4 separate regions of the Homo sapiens genome follow, and all the other regions are linked to region 4. The links are contacts of gene promoters, found by promoter capture Hi-C in blood cells and fetal thymus (Javierre and others, 2016). All regions are on one chromosome and are shown on one strand. Each heading gives the region's core, a stretch centred on a gene start or on the middle of the fragment in contact. The rest is flanking DNA. Distances are from core to core; before and after follow the strand shown. Region 1 overlaps IRAK4 (interleukin 1 receptor associated kinase 4). Region 2 has its middle 12 kb from the start of TMEM117. Region 3 has its middle 120 kb from the start of LINC02461. Region 4 holds the start of YAF2 (YY1 associated factor 2).

Region 1 (2,742 bases), core at 71-2,570, 1.5 Mb after region 4:
TCCAGAACCGTGAGCCAAATTAACTATTATTTATAAATTACCCTGTCTGTGGTATTCTATTATTGCAGCACAAAATGGACTAAGACAATAGACTAATTTTGTTTCTTTGTTACTTACTTTTAAGGAGATTTGAAGCATTACTTCAAACTGGAAAAAGTCCCACTTCTGAATTACTGTTTGACTGGGGCACCACAAATTGCACAGTTGGTGATCTTGTGGATCTTTTGATCCAAAATGAATTTTTTGCTCCTGCGAGTCTTTTGCTCCCAGGTAAACTGATTGTGACCAGGGTGTCCACAATTAGGGTGGAAAGACAAATGGCAGAAATATAAATGTTTCTTCTTACTCTTCCTTTTTTCTCATAGTAGATGAAGCTTACATTTGAGAGTCCCTTTCTTTCAGCACTCCTCAACTCTTTAAAAAGCAGCACAGACAAAGGACACTGTGGACTCTGCTGCTAAGGTGATAGAAGCTTCGTAAGAGTTAGATAGTTTTGTGCCAACAGGAAGTTTAGAAGGAAAGACTTCATACTTCTGGCTTAGGCTGTAAGAAAGTAATTATAATTTTGAGTTCTTCCTTTTTTTCATCTTCAACTTCTACCCTGATGGGACTCTATAATCATAATTTTAAAAAATTGTATTCTGATGTGGTAGTGTCTAGTTGCCTTCCTTATAAGCTTTCTTTTTTTCCTTTGATGCCTTTCACACCAGTGGTTCTCAACCTTTATCATGCATAAGAATCACTTAGGTTCTGGTTAAACATGTAGTTTCCTAGGGTCTGTTCCAAATCTATGTAATCAGAATTCTGGAATTGGGTTTAAGGTCTATATTCTTAAACAGGTGCTTCAGTGCCTCTGATATAGGTGGCTCATGGATCACTGTTTGAAAACACTGCCTTACTCTCTTTACCCATCTTCATTATAACTTACAGATTCTTACTAGGCAGCTTCTTGTGTGTGCTGTGAGAATATGAGACCAACCTGTAGAAACTGGAATGATATTAAATGAACCAAGTTTCTAGTTTAACTTTTTCACAACCACTTTTTCTTACTGAAAAACCACTTGTATCTTACTTCATTTGTTAGATGCTGTTCCCAAAACTGCTAATACACTACCTTCTAAAGAAGCTATAACAGTTCAGCAAAAACAGATGCCTTTCTGTGACAAAGACAGGACATTGATGACACCTGTGCAGAATCTTGAACAAAGCTATATGCCACCTGACTCCTCAAGTCCAGAAAATAAAAGTTTAGAAGTTAGTGATACACGTAAGTAACATTTTCAGTGCTTTCCACTAGGGATTTGTCATTAAGACTACCAGTGCTTTAAAAGAAAGCTCTTGCTCTTTTGTTTGTGCAGCAATCACAGGCACACTGGCAATAGCTCTTTTGTGAGTTGTTTCCTCCTGATATATTAAGAACCATCTTCATTGTATTAATCAGTGATTAGAGGCAATAGGACATGCAAACAACCAGAGAAGCTATGAAAAAAAATAAGTAAATATTTACATAACTTGGAAAGGTCACTTTTTAAAATAAAATATGTGACTAGAGTTTTGGGTAGGTAGACTAGACCCACTCAAATGTGTGACTAGAATTTTGGGTGGGTGACTACAGTGTTCAGAGGGTAGGATCACCAAACAGAGTTCTCAAGAAAAACTTATAATTTGTATTTTAGAAATGGTTTTATCTTCTCTCATCTTGTCTAATTCAAAATCATAAATATTTGCATATATGTGAAATCTTCAAATGAGAAAATATTATAATTATTAAAACGAATTTTTAAAATTTAAGCATGTTTTTCTTATTTTGACATAGGTTTTCACAGTTTTTCATTTTATGAATTGAAGAATGTCACAAATAACTTTGATGAACGACCCATTTCTGTTGGTGGTAATAAAATGGGAGAGGGAGGATTTGGAGTTGTATATAAAGGCTACGTAAATAACACAACTGTGGCAGTGAAGAAGCTTGCAGCAGTAAGTTATATTTTCAGGAATAAAAAGAAAGAGTTGCTTCATAGTGTGCCCTATAATAGGTTTTAAAGTTAATCTTTAGGAAATACATTATTTCAGTATGTATTTTCTTTAAATAAACATCATTCTAAATAGTAGTTCTTAAAATTTTAAAATCTGTTGAACACTATGGACCCTACCCCTAGAAAAATGTGGTTATGTCCATGTACACAAGATCATACATACAATTTTGGGAGATTCACAAACTAAAGTTGAGAAGCCCTGCTCCACATAGTGCTTCATGTGTAATCAAGATTAAAATGGTAAGATACCAGGAAAACTATTTTTAAAAAACCTTGTTTGCATTACTTTTCCCATTTAAAAATAAAATTTAGGAAGTATACATTAAGAAAAAACATTAAAATTTTTTTTATCTGTGTCCTTTGTTGCCATTTCTACTGAGGTGTTTACCTTTTACTTACTTGTTATATTCTAAATCTTTTGTTAGAGCCTAAAAATATCAATAGAATGCATATGTATGTGATAAAGATAGTCACTCTTTGTCATATATGTTGCAGGGCTTTTGTAGGGTTTTTTTTTCCATTTTGCACCTAAATTGCTTATGTTTTCTGTTTCCTAGAATTTTTTTCAAATTTTTTTGTGTAGTGAAATTTCGTGTTATTTCATTTTGTTTCCACAACTCAGTGAAATTTATATATATTTTTCATTCCACTAACCAGCCATGGGCCTTGAGCAAATCACTAGTATTTCTAGATCTCAGTTATTCTG
Region 2 (2,735 bases), core at 40-2,539, 1.6 Mb after region 4:
TGATACTTTTCCATTGAATTTATGGCAAAGCATTTATACAGAAATTTTATTATAAAAATTTGAGGACATTTATTAGGCCTACTATCCACTGGAATGAAACTTGATGTATTAAGAAGGTAATAGGAGATGTGCCAGGATGTGTTTACTTATACTATTTCATTTAATCCTCACTGCAGTCCATACATTTTATGTTATTAGCCAAAAATGTTAGATATGGGTATGTGTCTCAGAGAGGTTAAACAACTTGGCCAAGTTCACAGATAGAAAAGGTAGCAAAGTAGAATTTGAACCCAGGCCTAACTCCAAAAATCTACCTCCTTTCCATTATACTATACATTTATTGAGGCTAAACGATGAGATGATCAAGAAAAGGATAACTACATTTTTTGGTGAGGCTGAAAACAATCTCACAGTAGAGAGAACAAATTTGTGTGAGTGTAATTTCATTTTTATTTCTTTATTTATTTATTTTTTTGAGACAGAGTTCCACTCTGTCTCCAGGCTGGAGCACAGTGGCGTGATCTTGGCTCACTGCAACTTCCGCCTCCCAGGTTCAAGCCTCAGGCTCTTCTGCCTCAGGCTCCCAAGTAGCTGGGACTACAGGCACGCGCCACCACACCCAGCTAATTTTTGTATTTTTAGTAGAGACGGGGTTTCACCATGTTGGCCAGGATGGTCTCGATCTGTTGACCTCGTGATCCACCCACCTCAGCCTCCCAAAGTGCTAGGCATGAGCCACTGCACTGGCCATGAGTGTAATTTAAAAAAAAAAAGCTTTGTGTGCTGATAGTGATTAAATTGAAGTACTTTCCATACCAGTTCAAATGCTAATTTCCTATTGTTTTCCTTTTTACTGTAGATAAGAAACATTTGTGCCAGCTTAATAGTTTTAACAATAGTTTGACAAATTACTTACATTAGTATACATATACATTCTCACAGCAGGAAAACAATAAAAATTTCAGCTGTCTAGCATTGATATTTTAAAAAATAATTAATTAGCTAATTAGTTAGCTAATCCATTAGCTAATATTGTGATGTAATTAAACAAAAGAGACTTGAGAAAGTTCATTACTTGAAGGAGGGGCAATTTTCTTGAATTTCTCTCACCAAGCATGTCTATCGAATTCTAATACAGAATCCAGCCTTCCACAGTCCTAGGGAGGCTCTCTGGTCAAACGAGGTGGCATTGCTTTCTCCTGAAGAAGAGTGATTTCACTAAGGCTTGAGGGACTTGCCAGGATTCATTCTGGGAGACCCAGGTGTCCAGCTAATTTGTGATTAGGAGGGAATCTATCCCTATTGGTAGAATGCAGAAGTATCAGTTTTGGTGTCAGACTTCACTTGGCCTGAGGTGAGTGCCGCTTCCAGGGTAGCAGCTCTAGTTCTCTCAAGAGGACATGAGACTTTGGCAACTATGGCTCCAGGAAATGGGCTCTAGGAGAGGATAAAACCAGCAGATAAGGTGGAGCCTGTTTCATGTGATTTTCCCAAACCATTGTCATGCTTGCTCAGGGAAACCTTGAGATCTGTGACAGGAGAGGCTAGCGTGGGGCCTTGGATGCAGGAAGGCAGCTGCTGAGCTAAGAAAGCCCTGTAGGGCCGGGCGCAGTGGCTCACGACTGTAATCCTAGCACTTTGGGAGGCCGAGGCAGGCGGATCATGAGGTCAGGAGACCACCTTGGCTAACACAGTGAAACTCTGTCTCTACTAAAAATATAAAAAATTAGCCGGGCATGGTGGCGGGTGCCTGTAGTCCCAGCTACTGGGGAGGCTGAGGCAGAATGGTGTGAACCCGGGAGGCGAAGCTTGCAGTAAGCCAAGATTGTGCCACTACACTCCAGCACCCCAGCCTGGGCGACAGAGCGAGACTCCGTCTCAAAACAAAACAAAACAAAACAAAAAGAAAACCCTGTGGTAGGGTGCACTATAGTCCCCAAATGCCTTCAGAGGCCAGGCAACCAGGTGGGGAACTTAAATGACTGAAGACCTTGTTCGGCAACTGTATGCCATTCAAGAATGTAGACCCTGTAAGGTCAGTTCTTTTGGTTTTCATGAGAAGCTAAACATTCTGTTTTTGTTTAAAGTGAAATCTACTGGTTTTTAAATATTTGCAACTCAGCTGAAGTTTTAAAGTAGTATGAGGATCAAAGAAAATAATCCACAGGAAAAATTGCCACTAGTTTACAAGGGTTGGCGTAGAAGCAGCTATTTGGAACTATGGAGGGAAGGGGGCTGGCCTACCTGCTTTTAAGGAATATTGATTTCATTAGTTTGGCTGGGTGGACCCCAAGCGCTGGATTATCCCAATATGCAGCAGGGGTTGATCCCTACTCACTTAAAAGGTGGTATGAAGTGACTGGATTCTAGGCACCACAGGGCCCTATCCATAAGCCTTTCCTGGCTACCTTCTCTCCTCATTCTCTCTATTCTCCTCAGGTGATTTTATCTTCATGTGAATGAATAAATCACAGATGCATCTGTCTGTGTTTGGTTGGCAAATCCAATGACCAGAATACTCCCTTTGACATAAAGAACGTGATTGTATTTATTATTAAATATTATGTGATTATATTATTATTAAATATTATACTATTCAAATATAGGAAGAGCAGTAACATGAATAATTCCCTTTCTATGTGTTTCTCTGAATTAAATGTGCATAAGAGTTATTTAGGAAGTTATTACAATGAAGATTATGAAACTCCACCTCAAGAGATTCTGGTTTAGTAGGT
Region 3 (2,700 bases), core at 147-2,646, 1.0 Mb after region 4:
TAGAGAAGACTGAGATTCCAATGACAAAAAAAGCCAATAAATCAAAATCAATTACTAAACATCTGCTGTGTACCAAGAAAATGTGAAATGTATAGGGAGGCTCCAAAAGTAAAGAGGACATGGTCACTACTCTTGAGAAGCTCAGAACTTGTGGGGAAAACATGGACCCAAAGTAACCAGCACTCCAAGATAAAGAACACGTGGCAAGTTGCCAAATGAGCAGTATAAGAATACTTTAGGGCTACATATGTTTAAAAGAATGAGCGATAGTTGTTAGACAGAGGTGATCAGAAACACTTATTGTTGTTTTAGAGGAAGTGAAACCTGAACTGTCCCTTGAAGAATGGAAAGTTTTAGCAGAAAGTTTATTTTTGCCTACAAAGATAAAATTCCACGTAACAGGCTTGAGTTACTTCAATACTGCAAATATAGACCGATAAAAATCGAATTTAATGCAGTAGAAACCCATCTCATTACCTGCAGTTCCATATCATTATTTTGAAATATTTGTTACAATGAAAAAAAAGATTTATGAAGAATATAGTATCTGTCAAATACTTTTTGAGATGGTTATGGTTCTTGTCCCTAAAGGTTTTAATCTACTTAGAAATTTCAAATAAATAAGTTATTAATTTGAGGGCTGGGCACGGTGGTTCACGCCTGTAATCCCAGCACTTTGGGAGGCCGAGGCGGGTGGATCACAAGGTCAGGGGTTCGAGACCAGCCTGACCAACATGGTGAAACCCCGTCTCTAATAAAAATACAAAAATTAGCTAGGCGTGGTGGCGGGCACCTGTAATCCCAGCTACTCAGGAGGCTGAAGCAGGAGAATTTCTTGAACCCGGGAGGCGAGGTTGCAATGAGCCGAGATCACACCACTGCACTCCAGCCTGGGCGACAGAGTGAGACTCCGTCTCAAAAAAAAAAAGTTATTAATTTGAGTAATATCTAAGACAAGATACCTAACCCAAATTAAGGAAAGTCAGAGTAGGATTCTTGGGAAAAGGAGCATCTAAACTAAAGCTTTATTAGAAGTCAAGTAGAAGTAACAAAGTTTCTGAAATGAGAAATACCTGTATATGGTAAATCAAAAGAAGGTCAAAGTGGTGATATGAAGGTACTTGTGAGAGTAGAAGGGGCAATAGAGAGTTTAAACAGTGTTTATTAAATAGTGTCGAGAAAAAAGGCCATGATGATGCCATAGAGCAGCTGCTCTCTAGTAGCATGGGTCCCTGTGGGTCTTTGAGACACTTTCACAGAGTCTGTGAGTCAAATAATTTTGGCATAATGCTAGTACATTATTTGTGTGTAAAAGCTCATTCTCTCGTAAGTGTACAGTGGCATTTTTCACTGTACATTTGGAAGAACCATGTAAAAGAGTGAACCAATATATTCCAAATAACAAATCATGATGTTACAAAAATCATGCATAGATAAAAATCCACTAAAGGTGCAAGATAGGCCAATGTACAGAACTAGACAGACTATAAAGCAGTAGTCCCCAAACTTTTTGGCACCAGGGACCAGTTTCATGGAAAACAATTTCTCCATGGACCAGGGGGTAGGCGGAGATGGCTTTAGGATGAAACTGTTCCACCTCAGATCATCAGGCATTAGATTCTCATGATAAGCATGAAACCTAGATCCTTCACAGGTACAGTTCAGAACAGGGTTTGTGCTCCAGTGAGAATCTAATGCTGCACTTATCTGACAAGAGGCAGAGCTCAGGCAGTAATGCAAGCAATGGAGGTAGTGGCTGTAAATACAGATGAAGCTTTCAGTGGCTCACGCCTGTAATCCCAACACTTTGGGAAGCTGAAGCAGGCAGATCACCTTAGGTCAGGAGTTCGAGACCAGCTGGGCAACAAGGCGAAACCCCGTCTCTACTAAAAATACAAAAATTAGCCTGGCATGGTGGCAGGTGCCTGTAATCCCAGCTACTTGGGAGGCTGAGGCAGGAGAATTGCTTGAACCTGGGAGGCGGAGGTTGCAGTGAGCAGAGACCGTGCCGTTGCACTCCAGCCTAGGCACAAAAAATGAAACTCTGTCTGAAATAAAGAAATATAATAAATACAGATGAAGCTTTACCCGCTCACCTGCTGCTCAACTCCTGCTGTGCAGCCCGGTTCCTAACAGACCACGGACCAGCCACAGAGGTTGGGGACCCCTGCTATAAAGCATTCATGAATATGATTTTAGATTTCATATTGCAACTAATCTTTAAGAAACTATCACTTTTTGAATTTTGATGTAACGTAAAAGATGAATATTCACAACTACTAAAATGGCTATTCAAATACTCTTCCCTTTTGCAACTATATATGTGTATGAGACCAGATTTTTTCATATACTTCAACTGAAGCAACAAATCACAACAGATTTGCCAATCTAGCTAACTTCCGTGAAGCCAGACCTTTAAAAGATGTTCAAAACTGTCAAACAATTCTACTTTTATAACTAACTTTTGGAAGACGGTAGTTCCTTTTCATAAGAAAATGGTTATTAGTGTTATTTTTAAATGAATTAATTTATATATTTCAGTTTTAACTTTTAATATGATAATTGTAACTAGATATAACTCACTTAAACTCTTTCGGGTCCATAATTTTTAAGGGTATAAAGGGGTTCTGAGACCAAAAATTTGAGAATATCTGCCACAGACAGTGCCCTGGAGATTCTACTTTAAATCTGCTTGAGATC
Region 4 (2,700 bases), core at 64-2,563:
AATAAAGTCTGAAAATAGGCAGAGATCTTTTCATCTCATTTGTCTAAGAGACTGCCATTTAATCAAACTAAAGATATAAAGGTACTTTCAGTAAAAATCTGTTCCTGTGACTGGGCTCATCTCCAACTACTTATTTATAAAATATTAGAGTACTGGAATAAAAACACTAAATAAAACCTTGATCTGACCCTTCCAGAAGTACATGTAGAAAAATAAGTTTTAATATATTGTGTATTCTGCAATCAGATACTTTTCTTTCTTTAGGAACGAAATTAAATTACATCCTTTGCTCCTAAAGAGATTTTATGGGTTTTCCTTGATCCCCACACACTAACACAACAATGCAGCCAACATTTTTATACCCAGAATGGGGAGAGGGGCATTACACCCAGCGATACGAATTAAATCGCAGTAGCTAATGCCTCCCTTAAATAATTTATTCTCTCTTGGCAGCAAAAAACGTTACAGCCTCTTCAATTACCCCTCACCGCAAACCATCGCCTGGGTTGCGATCAATGTGACCCAGTTCCTATCGCCACAGCCACCTCCGTCTGCCTCCTCCCGCCGGGTCCGCCAGTGTCATGGGAGGGGGCGGCAGCCGCAAGGGCGTCCTCTGGTCGCCACCCCGCCGGCCGGCGGCGCGAGGGGCAGGCCCGGGACTCACCGGGTGGAGGTGCCCTTCCGCACATCGCACATCATGCACTTGAAGGCCTCGGCGCTGTTCCGGAAGGTGCAGACGCTACAGTCCCAGTAACCCTCATCCGAGGACGGCTTCGGCTGCCGCTTCGGCCTGCAGGACACAACCCGGACACGACGCGGCGCGGGGTCACCAGCAGGCCGCGCCCGGTGCCCGGGCCCCGCGGCCGCCCCCGCCCCGCCCCCCGCCCCAATTCTGCGACCCCCGCCCCGCGGGCCCTCGGCGCGCCGCGCTCCGGCTGAGGGGGAAGGGAGTCAGGAAGAGGCAGGGCGCGAGCGCGGCCGCAGTCGCCGCCGCCACAGCCGCTCTGACACCCGGGCGGCCGCTCCGGTCGCCGCCGCCATCGCGGCTCCATTGTGGGGCGGCCGGCGCCGGCCCCCTCAAGCGGCAGCACTCGCACACCAGCGGCGCTGCCCCCGTGCTCGCCCCGGTGCCCGGGCGGCTAGCGAGGCGGCCACCCGAAGCCCTGCACGAGGGCCCTGCCGCCCGCACAGTCCGGGCCCCGGGGCCCGGGCGCTGTTACCTGGTGGGGCTCTTCTTGTCTCCCATGGCTTGGCTATCACCGCACGCCGAGAGTCGCCGCCGCGACCGCTCTGTTTGTCAATAAGGAGGATAATAAGCCGGGCGGAAGCGGGCGGGGGAGGAGGGAGGGAGGGGGCGGGGAAGGCCGCACCGCCGCGCTCGGGAGCCGCCGCCGGATCCCACGCAGCCTCCAGCTGTCGGGGAAACTCCTGCCTGGGCGCACGTGACCCTCGCCGGCCAACCAGCAGCCGCGCCGGAGACTTCAAACGCGGCCAGCGCGGCCCAGCACCCGCGGCGAGTTAGCCGGCGGGCGGTGCGGGGGTGGCCGCGGTGGCCGCGGCTGCCTCGGGCGCCGGCGCCGCCTCTCCGCGCTGTTCCCCCGTTGCCCCCTTGGTACCCCCGGCTGCCGGGGACTGCCTCGCGCTCCAGAGCCCCTCTGAGGAGGAAAACGTCTGTCCCACCGACTGGCAGGGGATGCTCCGTCATCCCGTGCGAAGCCTGGTCCAAGGTAGGGCCGGCCGGCGTTCGGAGGCCTGTCCAGGTCTGGACAGAAGTGCCAGCCCGGGATCTCCAGGTAGAACGACTTTCCTGGCCTCCGCTGTCCTTAGCTACCCAGCCCCCGCCTGCAGTATACCGGGGGGAAGGCGGGAACCAACACGCAGCGCCATTGCTACATGCCTTAAAGCACTGTCTGGTTTATGCACACAGATGCTCTAACAAGTAGGGATTGTCAACCCTAACTTAGAGGAATTGAAATCAAGACTCAAGAGAGATTAGGTGACTTCCTCTAGGCTATATAATTAGAAAATGACAAAGCCAAGAGTCTAACTCTGTTTTAATTCCAAACGCGCCCTTTTGGCCTCTCAGGCCTCTGCAGTAGCTGCTTTTGAAAGAAACCCCTATATACTCATAAGTCCTTTTTAAATATAAGGAGTTTGCATGTCCCCTCAACGCTGTCTGCTAACAAAAGAACACCTTCCCAGGTCTCTACGTCAACATACTAAAGGTCCTCATACTCCAGACTCCAGCAACAGCCATCTAACTGGTCTCCGAAGCTCCACTTCTACCTCCCCAATGTATTCAGTAATCCACAACCAGATTAATAATAAAATGCTGTTAATACTATGCCACCACTCTGATAAAGAACCACTAACGACTTGCCCACACTCCTTAGCCTGGCATTCAAAGGCTTCACACATTTTCCCTACCTCTGCCTCCCTCTCCCATAAGGAAAGCTGCCTCCTGACAAAGAGTGCAGATGAAATTCATTCCCTTACCAGAACCCTTCCTTCATGCACATGGGTTACTTCTGCATAAAGTATATCCCTCTTTAACTGTGCTGTTTCTGTCCATCTTTCTAGGTTTACATCAAGTCCGAATTCATGTAAAATAATTTTATAGCTAAACTACATAGGAAATAATACAGTCAGAAGCCCAGGATTCTCAGCCTGCTTCTCCTGTTTCTTAGCTGATAGACCTTG

Evidence for each region. The method cuts DNA at HindIII sites, captures the fragments that hold promoters and counts their contacts. A CHiCAGO score of 5 or more calls a contact.
Region 1: a contact is called between a fragment that was not itself captured here and the fragment with the promoter of YAF2 in region 4, in 1 of 17 cell types (total CD4 T cells). The highest score is 5.5, in total CD4 T cells.
Region 2: a fragment that was not itself captured here is called in contact with the fragment with the promoter of YAF2 in region 4 in 1 of 17 cell types (non-activated CD4 T cells); the score reaches 6.7 in non-activated CD4 T cells.
Region 3: a contact is called between a fragment that was not itself captured here and the fragment with the promoter of YAF2 in region 4, in 1 of 17 cell types (total B cells). The highest score is 5.4, in total B cells.

Annotation. Positions count from the first base shown.
Region 1 is chr12:43,771,096-43,773,837 of GRCh38, forward strand. It overlaps IRAK4 (interleukin 1 receptor associated kinase 4), which reads left to right. Exons shown (of 12, transcript NM_016123.4): 3 at 125-270; 4 at 1,085-1,267; 5 at 1,817-1,977. Among named protein-coding and RNA genes, the nearest start is that of IRAK4, 14 kb to the left of the region's middle. The HindIII fragment of the contact is 1,292 bases long and covers 675-1,966 here.
Region 2 is chr12:43,823,054-43,825,788 of GRCh38, forward strand. It overlaps a transcript of TMEM117 not described here. Among named protein-coding and RNA genes, the nearest start is that of TMEM117, 12 kb to the right of the region's middle. The HindIII fragment of the contact is 1,034 bases long and covers 773-1,806 here.
Region 3 is chr12:43,278,198-43,280,897 of GRCh38, forward strand. No RefSeq gene overlaps it. Among named protein-coding and RNA genes, the nearest start is that of LINC02461, 120 kb to the left of the region's middle. The HindIII fragment of the contact is 751 bases long and covers 1,022-1,772 here.
Region 4 is chr12:42,236,935-42,239,634 of GRCh38, forward strand. It overlaps YAF2 (YY1 associated factor 2), which reads right to left and starts at 1,314. Exons shown (of 4, transcript NM_005748.6): 1 at 1,221-1,314; 2 at 665-790. The coding sequence starts at 1,246. LOC124902920 (a long non-coding RNA gene) reads left to right here and starts at 1,511. Exons shown (of 2, transcript XR_007063279.1): 1 at 1,511-1,793; 2 at 2,203-2,344. RefSeq lists silencers at 440-769, 890-959, 1,060-1,439, 1,490-1,729, 1,920-2,059 and an enhancer at 605-1,106. The HindIII fragment of the contact is 7,822 bases long and covers 1-2,700 here.